Linked DNA regions of Homo sapiens: region 2 is linked to region 1. Evidence: promoter capture Hi-C in 16 types of primary human blood cells and fetal thymus (Javierre and others, 2016). All regions are on one chromosome and are shown on one strand. Each heading gives the region's core, a stretch centred on a gene start or on the middle of the fragment in contact. The rest is flanking DNA. Distances are from core to core; before and after follow the strand shown.

Region 1 (5,025 bases), core at 774-3,273:
ATATGTACTATTATTTAAAAATACACTTTGCTACTTAATTTCATAATTCTTTTAAATGAATTTGTAATTTTTTAAATTAATAGACTTTGTTCATTATATATTTCCTCAAATATATAAACAGTATGCACATAAAAGTATGCCTACTATCAAAGGACTTTGAACAATTTGGGGGCAATAGGGAAGCCTGACATTTTAAAATCCTGAGAACTTCTGATCTTGACTTCAAAAGGGGCAAAAGTCTACATTTGGGGTCCTTTAGAAACAGCAAGCTAGGAACTAGTTGGGTTGGGAGTCACATATGTCGGAGAGACCAAGTCATATCTTGTCAGCAGGATATCTCGAAGCAAGTTAACCTCTGTTTTCTTTTTACCCCCGGGCTTCAGTGCAGCCCTGTATAGGTATTCTTCTGGAGCAATCATTCTCAAACTCTGGGGGGGCACAGGCATCCCCAGGAGAGCTTGCTTAAGTAGTCTCCTGGGGCCCCAACACCAGAGATTCTGATTCAGTAGTTTGGGGTGAGGCCTTCAAATTTGCATTTCAAAGAAGCTCACACTGGATGCAAATGATGCTGGTGTGAGAACCACTGTTCTAGATTCTTCGCTGCACTCAGCAAACTAAGATAGGCAAATACAGCTCCCGGAACCAGAGAGGCTGACAAATGAATTCCAAAGAGATGCTGAATACTTGGCGATAAGAACTGCTGCTTTGAGATAAAGATGCTCCTCCTTTGTAGAACACAGTATTTTTTGGTTGGAAAGCAATCTGATGAGCAGACTAATGCGAACATTCACAGGATATTCTGGGAGATACCATGCCTTTAATCAAAATAATCAGATTCAATGACAGAATTTCAGAACCAAGGACCATTAGACATTGTGGGGTCTTTCGGGGGAAGCTTTCCTGTATCTCTAAATCATACTATGTAAGTAGAAAGCTTGCTGACTGCTTTTTTGTTAATACGATTTCTTCTAGCTTCCGTAGCCAACTTTTTTTTTTTTTTTTCTGGCTAGGGTTTTCATTATTTTATGTGATTAAGGACACTTTTCTGCCCCAAGTATTGTAATCCTCTCGGCCGGCTCTGTCCAAAAGAACTGTCTTCGATGATAGAAACGTTCTACATATGTACTTTGCCACATAGCAGCCACTAGCCATACATGGTTATGGCACACCTGAAATGTGGCTGGTGCCACTGAGGAATTAAGTTAATATTTAAAATTTAAATCCCAATACTGGACAGCACGGCTAAACCTTTCCTAACCCTTCACGTTTCTTATGAAGATTATATAGCAGGATATTACAAGCACTAAAAAAGAACTATCTTAAATCTGAAGCAAGATGATTTCCCTAACTAGTACGTTTGTTTGGTAAAAGAGGACGTGCTATTTTTTACAGTTAAATCTAATTCGTAAGTTGTAGAACGTTTTCTTAACAAGGTATCCCTCTCCCAAATTCCGGGAGAGGCTGGCTGCCTTTCCTTTTGCTCCAGCGGTTTATTTGGCATAAAATCTGCAGGCTTACAGGAGCTGACACCAGGGCAGAAAAGAATGAGGAATTTGTTTCCAAGTTGGTCACAGGCCGCTAATCTGACCTAGATGATGTTTAAAATAATATTCAAATACAGCACTTTAAAAAACTATGAAGGCTGAGAAGAAAACGAGAAATGGGAAGCAAGAAGGAAGGCGGAGCGTGCCGGCGACTTCTCAGGGGACTTCCTCAGGGAGTCCCATTCCAGTAACCCCGCGCTACCCACGGACCACCGCCTCTCTCTTGTCGGAAGACGCAAGCCCAAGGGGCGGCTCACCTCGTGCCGCGCGCAGGGACCACGGCCGCCGGGTGGTCCCCTGGCCCCGCCCCCTCCCACCTGGGCACCCCGAGCCCCGCCCCCCGAGCGCCCCGCCCCGCCCCGCCGCCGACTTCGCGCCGCGCTCGGGCGCCGAGTCTGCGCGCTGACGTCCGACGCTCCAGGTACTTTCCCCACGGCCGACAGGGCTTGGCGTGGGGGCGGGGCGCGGCGCGCAGCGCGCATGCGCCGCAGCGCCAGCGCTCTCCCCGGATCGTGCGGGGCCTGAGCCTCTCCGCCGGCGCAGGCTCTGCTCGCGCCAGCTCGCTCCCGCAGCCATGCCCACCACCATCGAGCGGGAGTTCGAAGAGTTGGATACTCAGCGTCGCTGGCAGCCGCTGTACTTGGTGAGTCGCGGACCCACGCGGCAGTCGCCGACCTCCTCCGAGACCCGGACTCGTGCCCTGTCCGCAGGGTCCCTCCCGCCTCCCCCGCCTCTCGCCTCTAGCCTCTCGCTCGGGGCGGAAGTGGCGGCGCGGTCCGCGTCAGGGGCGCGCCTGCGCTGACCGCTCTCTTGCTCCTTTTGGTTTAAAAAAAAAAAAAAAAAAAGCATACTTGAGCTGAGCAGCTCATGGTTAGCGCAAGCGCAGTTAGTTCTGGAGGGCGGTGCCACAGCGGCTTCTTGGGGAGCGCGTGGATGCGCCACCAGCGTTGCGCGGCCCGGGTCTGGGGGTCCTTGGGAAAGCCGTGGGGGCGCTCGGGCGCGCGCCCCCGGGCCGCAGCTTCGCCGTAGCTCCCACGCCGCTGTGCTTGGTTCTTGCTCGCGGACAGCTCTTTCTCTGGCCGGGTGTTTTGTGGCCGGGTGGGCAGCTGGCGTCCCCGGGAGCGGTGAGGGCGGGGGCGGGCGAGCCGGGCCGCGGCGTCCGGGTCCAGCTGGCGCCCGCGCAGGACCTGTGGGAGCAGGCCGCTCTGGGCGCCGGGCCGGCCGCCGCAGCCCTCTGCGAGGCGAAGCTCGCTCTCCTGGCGGAGCCGCGGTGGTTGGGGGTGGCTCGTGGCCTCTGGCGAGGGCAGCGCTCTCGGGACCCTCCGTCTTCATTTTCCCCCGTGGCCCAGCAGCGCCCAGCGTGGGTTCGGCCCCCATAGAACCTTCCCGGAACGAAAGAGGCTTTGCTTGTGTTCGTCCAGTGATAGCGTGTCATTCTCTTTATAGTTTTCCTTACTGAGGTATACTTTCCCTACAGTGAAACGCAGCTTTCATGTGTGCTCCCAGACGGGTGTCACAAATGAATCCCCTCTTGCAAGCCCCCTCAAATCAAAATAGCCTTTCCTTGCCCTGAGAAAGTGCCCTCATCCCCTCCCCGGGGGCACGGTGTTCCGATGCCTATCGCCCTAATCGTGCCTGTTCAGCTCACATAGATGCAATATGTAGTATAAACACCTGTGATTCGCTTTTTTTATGTCAACTAGACTACCTTTTAATTCAAACAAAACTTTATCTCTTTTAAAATGATGTAACTGCTTTCCCCTTCGTTTAATCCTTGTCGTATTATTCCCAAGATTGAATTTGGTGACGGTTAAGTTAATGCTGCTTCTGATGTTTGGTTCTCTCTGTGTAAAGTAAAAGACGGGCTTTCCTGTAAATGGATGATCCTGGGTTTTTCCCCTTTCCATTTAATTAGATGGCAGTGAAAAATGTGTTCAGAAAGTAACGTTTTCTTCTTGAACACATTAGTGGGAAGTATAAATATTCTGATTCCCATGATACAGAGTATGTTAGAATAGGGATCTAAGTTTTAAAGAATGCTGGTAAGGACTCTTCCAATTATAGACAATCTGAAACGCAAATTCTGGTAGGAATCTTCATGTGAGAGAGCCTGCCAGCTGCATCTTCTCCAGTTACATTTGTTTTAGCAGAGGCTGCTGTCTCTCTAAGGGATAGGTTATATATCGAAATAGATTTGAAAAGAGAAAAGTGAATATAACTTAATTCAGCTTAACATTTTGGTTTAAGAAATTTAATTTTCTTTGGTATCATTAATATCCTTGAAAATTCAATGAGAATTGTGATTCCTCTTTCCAGAAAAATGAACTTAACTCGCATCCACTGGAGATTTCACATGCATTTTCAAAAAGATAAGGAAATCCTTCTATAGATTCTTACCGAGGAATCCTGTAGTTTCCTTGGTTGGTCAATGCTCATATTATTTTTTCCTAGTTGAAAACAAGACCATTAGTTTGGTCAGTAGAAACCATGGCATGCACACTGGTGTTACAGTAAAAGTAGGTCACAAACCAAGAAAGTTAGTAATGGAAAGCAAGTCAGGAAGTTTGAGCTATGTGTTCTCCTGTGGCCTTAGAACATCCATTCAGCCATTCCACAAATATGCCCGGACCCCCAGTGGAGTTGCAGCTTTTGCTCCTGGCCTTGGGGATTCAGCAGAGAATGCTCCTGGCAAGTTTCCTACCCTCGAGGTGCTCACTCTAGGGCTTATTCTTTTGGGGCCTCATTGTAGTTCCATATTTTCATTCATTCGTTCATAACATGCTTGTTATGTGCTAGTGTTAGACACTGAGGATTCTTGTTAAAAGACAGGAGTCCCAGTTTTTAAGGATGCAGCCCTGTAAATAGGTAAGCTGATGAAAACGTTAAAGTGATACATGTAAAGCTAGCTTGAAGCACAGGGTCTTGTGGAGTTGAGTTACCTAGGAGTCCTGTATTTCCCAAAAAGGGGTACACATGGGAGTTCTGGTGAAGCTTCTCGAGGGAGGGAGGACCTCACCTAAGTCTTGAAAGACATTGGCCAGGGGAAGAGGACAAGGGAGGTGAAGAGAATTACTGTTCCAGCAAGGAGGGAGTGCACAAAGGCACTGAGGGAATGCTGAGAGAACCACCCACAGTTTAGCCTGGAGACTGGTGTGAAGTTGAGATGCTGGAGAGTAAGGCAGAGCCTAGATCAGACTAAGGAATTTGAGCTGTTTAATAGGAACTCATTGTGGAATTGTAAGTCTGGAAATACCATGATCATATTTGCTTCTTTTTTTTTTGACAGAGTCCCGCTCTGTCGCCCAGGCTGGAGTGCAGTGGTGCGACGTCAGCTCACTGCAACCTCTGCCTCCTGGGTTCAAGTGATTCACTTACCTCAGCCTCCTGCGTAGTTGAAATTACAGGCACACACCACCATGCCCGGTTGATTTTTTTGTACTTTTAGTAGAGACAGGGTTTCGACATGTTGGCCAGGCTGGTC
Region 2 (5,025 bases), core at 1,596-4,095, 260 kb before region 1:
AGATCTGGAGAGTGGATGCTGCCTCTTCCTACCCACGGGTTCTGCAGGGCCGACTGCAGGTCAGGAGAACCTGCTGATTTTGCTATCTGCACAGGTCCCAGGAACCCAGGACCAATCCCCCACAGATACCAACCAGGAAAGGACGCATCTATGTTGTGATCTGCTGAAGAAGCTGGGAAACCTCTAGGAGGAGACAGGGACTCCTGGCTGATGGCCAAGAAGAAATTGAATGCTGCCAAATACTGAATGAGTTTGGAAGAGGATTCCAAGCTGCAGATGAGAATGTAGCTGACTGACACCTCGATTTCAGCCTCCTGAGACCATGAGCAGAGAATCCGCCAGGCAGTGCTGGCTTCTGACCTACAGAACTGTGAGAAAAAGGCAGGCATTATTTTCAGCCACTGAGTTTGTGGTAGTTTTGAAACCTGACCAATTGTCCCATAAAACTGATGTTTATCATTTCTTTTGAATAAACATAGAAATTGACCCTCTCAGTCTTAAAACTTGAGAAAGTTACATTTGTCTTATCTGAGTTCCTTTCTCAGGAAACCGACCATCAGGACTCCCAGGTAGTATCAAGGAGCTGAAACTTACAAGCTCACAGCCTCTGGAGGATGAGTGGCCAGGCCCTCAACCCTCATGATTGCCTGAGCACCACCTGCTGCCTGTTGACCAACTCCTCTTCCTCATTCTTCCCTAATTACTGTTTTCCTGCATGTAGTTACATTTCTTCCCTTCTATATAAACTCCCAATTTTAGATAGTCAGAGAGACGGACTTGAGACTGAATTCCCATCTCTTCAGCTGCAGCACCCGATTAAAGCTTTCTTCCCTGCCAATACTGGTTGTCTTGATGACTGGCTTTCTGTGCTGTGAGCAGCAGGACCTAGACCAAACCCCTGGTGTTTGGGTAATCATTTGTTATGCAACAATAGAAAACTAATATAGGGGATGCAAACACAATATGCATTTGTTTATCTGTATACACTCCTCTGTCCTCTGCTAGATTTTTTTTTTTTTTTTTGGCAGGATCTTGCTGTCACCCAGACTGGATGGAGTTCAGTGGTGTGATCCTGGTTCATTGCAGCCTCCACATCCTGTATTCAATTGATACTCCTATCCCAGCCTCCCAAGTAGCTGGGACTACAGGCATGCACCACTGGGCCAGGCTAATTTTTGTATTTTTTGTAGAGATGGAGTTTTGCCGTGTTGCCCAGGTTGATCTCAAACTCCTGGCCTCAAGCAATCCACCCGCCTTGGCCTCCTGATGTGCTAGGATTACAGGCGTGAGCCACCATGCTCAGCCTCCATTTCTAATAAGAGTAAATCTGCTTTGCATACTGGTGGGCAATTTGGCTTTTCACTCAATAATATAGCTTACATTTTTATATCACAACACAAAGCTACTCATTCTATTTTACATGTGTGCGGTGTTGAGTTGCATGAACCAAGATGCGTGTCATCTGTCCTCCAAAAGCAGCACTGAGGTCACTTCTGTTGTGTTATCTGTGCATGCCATGCTGCAGTGAAGCTCCTGGAAGTCATGCCTGTATGCCCTGTGTGTTTACACAGGAGGGACTCTAAAAAGGGAGCTCTGACTGTGTTTGTCTGTTGGAAGCTGAACTTCCAGGTTCCACTCCGTTCCTGGCATCCAGGTTCTTACAGGCTGCTCTGATGCTACTCACTGCTCTGTGTCTTGTGGCTCAGTGAAGAAGAAAGGGGACTCTTGAGCCAACAAGAAGAGTTAGGGCTGGTTGGGTAGACAGCGGGTGTGGGTCTTGGGTCCTTCCTCCTTCCAGAGGGAGGTGGCTGCTGTAGAGACAGCCTCAGCCCCTTTCCCTGAGCAGGGTGACTAAGTTGGTAAAGGCCTCTACAATGTTTCTAGCATGTCTTGGTGTTGAACTGCTCCACTGAGAACATTACATGGGCTCAAGGCTTCAATTTCCTCCATCCAGAAAAGATGGACGTCTCTAATACCAATTAAGTATGCCTAGGATGAGCGGGGCCTCTCTTAGGACCAGGGGGCATCTGCCCAAGTGCATTGTGAAATTGAAGCATTAATACCCAGTGAGGGCCAAGTCAGGACAGTCACAGTAGAGCCAACAATGGTGACCTCTCCTTCCCAAACCTCTAGGGAGTCCGCTGGGTTTACGCAGGCCTGCAAATCTGCACCGTCCTTGGCGATGGCCCTGGAGGCAGCCTGTGTGTCAGGGAAATGTCAGAAGCATGGCGGCCACCTGCTGTAAGAATAGAAGGCCCTGGGAACCTAGGCGGCCGGTGCATCTGACAGAAGCCTGGAACCCGAGACCTGGCAGAGACTCACCAGGGACCTCCCACCGTTAAACACTGTGCTAGGTTGGCCAGGCACGGTGGCTCACGCCTGTAATCCCAGCACTTTGGGAGGCCGAGGCAGGCAGATCACGAGGTCAGGAGATCGAGACCATCCTGGCTAACACAGTGGAACCCCGTCTCTACTAAAAATACAAAAAATTAGCCAGGCGTGGTGGCGGGTGCCTGTAGTCCCAGCTGCTCGGGAGGCTGAGGCAGGAGAATGGCGTGAATCCGGGAGGCAGAGCTTGCAGTGAGCTGAAATCGCGCCACTGCACTCCAGCCTGGGTGACAGAGTGAGACTCTGCCTCAGAAAAAAAAAAAAAAAAAAAAAAAAAAAAAACAAACCGCTGTGCTAGGTTTTGCCTGTTTGGTTGTTTAGCAGGAAAAAAAAGAAAAACAAACAGAAATACATACATACATACATACATACATACATACATACATACATACATACATAATGTCCAAGGATATCCGTTGGTGAGCAGGACAAAACCCTGCCCCTACAGTTTCATTCTGTGACACACAGGACCTCAGTGGGTGAAAGGTACTTTGGTGTCAAACTAGAGGGGAGAGGGATTGGGAGGATGAGAAGTGGGAGTTTTATTCAGAGAAGTTAAGGAAGACCTCACGAAAAAGCCACGCGAGGAACACACAAGGAAGGAGGTGAGAGTCAGATGCAGGGGTCTTGGGTGAGAACATTCCAGGCCAAGGGAGCAGCAGGTGCCAGGCCCCGAGGCGGGGCAGGCCTGGAGCACTGGGCAACCCACATGCCACATGGAGGAAGTGGCTCTCACCACCATCCTGGCCTCTGGAGTCCTTCACATGAGTCACAGAAGAAAAACTTGTTATATCTGAGTATTATTTTTGTGATCTTACTCTTTGACTTAAAACATTTTTTATTGCAGACATTTTATTTATTTATTTATTTATTTATTTTTTATTTATCGAGATGGAGTCTCGCTCTGTCGTCCAGGCTGGAGTACAGTGGCGCAATCTCGGCTCACTGCAACCTCTGCCCCCTGGGTTCAAGCAATTGTCCTGTCTCAGCCTCCCTAGTAGCTGGGATTACAGGTGTGCACTATCACGCCTGGCTAATTTTTGTATTTTTATTAGAGTCGGGGTTTCGCCATGTTGGCCAGGCTGGTCTCGAACTCCTGACCTCAAGTCATCTGCCCACCTTGGCCTCCCAAAGTGCTGGGATTACAGGCATGAGTCACCGCGCCCAGCCAACATTTTACACAAAAGTGGCTGGATGTGGTGGCTCATCCCTCTAATCCCAGCATGTATTGTTCAAGCTCAGTAGTTCACCACCAGCCTGGGCAATGTGGCAAATCCCTGTCTCTACAAAAAAAAAAAAAAAAAAAAAAAAGAAAGAAAAAAAATAGCCGGGGGTGGTGGCATGCACCTGTGGTCCCAGCGACTTAAGAGGGTGAGGTTGGAGGATCACTTGAGCTTGGGAGGCAGAGGTTGCAGTGAGCCAAGATTGAGCCACTGGACTCCAGCCTGGGTGACAGAGCAAGACGACCCTGTCTCAAATAAAATAAAATAAATAGTAAAGTAAACATACACAAAAGTAGAGGAGAGATAATATAAAGCCCTACACATCCACCCCCTGCCATCAGTAATTACCAGCATTGGGGCTGCACCATCTTCCACCACACGTGGCTTCAGAACAATGCCCAAATCCAAGCATGACAAGGAAGTCCCTAACCAAAACTGCCAAGAAAGGCCTGGAATTGAAACAACACCTGATAGAAGAGCTTCGGAAACGTGTGGACACTGATAAGTACCTTTCCATCTCTCTGTGGCCAACACGTGGAACAGCAAGCTGAAGGACATCCGGAATGCCTGGAAGCACAGCCGGATGTTCTTTGGCAAAAACAAGGTGATGATGGTGGCCTTGGGTCGGAGCCCATTGGGTGAGTGCAAAGACAACCTGCACCAGGTCAGCAAAAGGTTGAGGGGTGAAGCGGATCTCCTGTTCACCAACCACTGGAAGGAGGAGGTGAATGAGTGGTTCACAGAATACACGGAAATGGACTTCAGCTGAGCTGTAACAAAGCAGCTTTCACCGTGAGCCTGGACCCAGGGCCCCTGGAGCAGTTCCCCACCCCATGAAGCCACAGCTGAGGCAGCCGGGCCTGCCCACCACCTTTGAGAGAGGTGTGGTGACCCTGCTGTCCGACAATGAGGTGTGCAAGGAGGGCCACCTGCTGGCCCCGGAGCAGGCTGGTGTTCTGATGCTTTCTGGGTATGAGATGGCTGAATTTAAGGTGACCATCAAATACATGTGGGATGTACAGTCAGGAAGGGTCCAGCAGATGGGAGACGACCTGCCAGAGAGCTCATCCAACTCAGCAGAAGAATCAAGACTCAGACGATGATGACTGAAAGGGACTCAGGACTGAAGGTCTCCTGGAACCTTCTGGATCTCACTGGACCACACAGGACTACTGCCACTCCTCTAGAGAGAGCAGCTTATTTGGCTTTTGACAGGGAGTGATGGGCACTGACTGTTCCTGTAAAGAATAAAGCTTTGCAGGATGTCAAATAAAATTTTTTTAAAAAATTACCAGCGTTGTTCAGTTTTGCTTCATGTATTGTTCCCCTCCCAGCTTTTGTCTATTGCTTTGCTAGAGTATTTAAAGGAAATCCCAGAAGACAACACATCATTTTATCCGTATTTGATTCTTTG

Evidence for each region. The method cuts DNA at HindIII sites, captures the fragments that hold promoters and counts their contacts. A CHiCAGO score of 5 or more calls a contact.
Region 2: a fragment that was not itself captured here is called in contact with the fragment with the promoter of PTPN2 in region 1 in 1 of 17 cell types (naive B cells); the score reaches 5.3 in naive B cells.

The regions. Positions count from the first base shown.
Region 1 is chr18:12,881,235-12,886,259 of GRCh38, reverse strand. It overlaps PTPN2 (protein tyrosine phosphatase non-receptor type 2), which reads left to right and starts at 2,023. Exons shown (of 9, transcript NM_002828.4): 1 at 2,023-2,187. The coding sequence starts at 2,119. RefSeq lists silencers at 402-451, 1,811-2,100, 2,481-2,820. The HindIII fragment of the contact is 3,601 bases long and covers 937-4,537 here.
Region 2 is chr18:13,139,470-13,144,494 of GRCh38, reverse strand. It overlaps the pseudogene LOC646203. Among named protein-coding and RNA genes, the nearest start is that of LDLRAD4, 77 kb to the left of the region's middle. The HindIII fragment of the contact is 4,042 bases long and covers 825-4,866 here.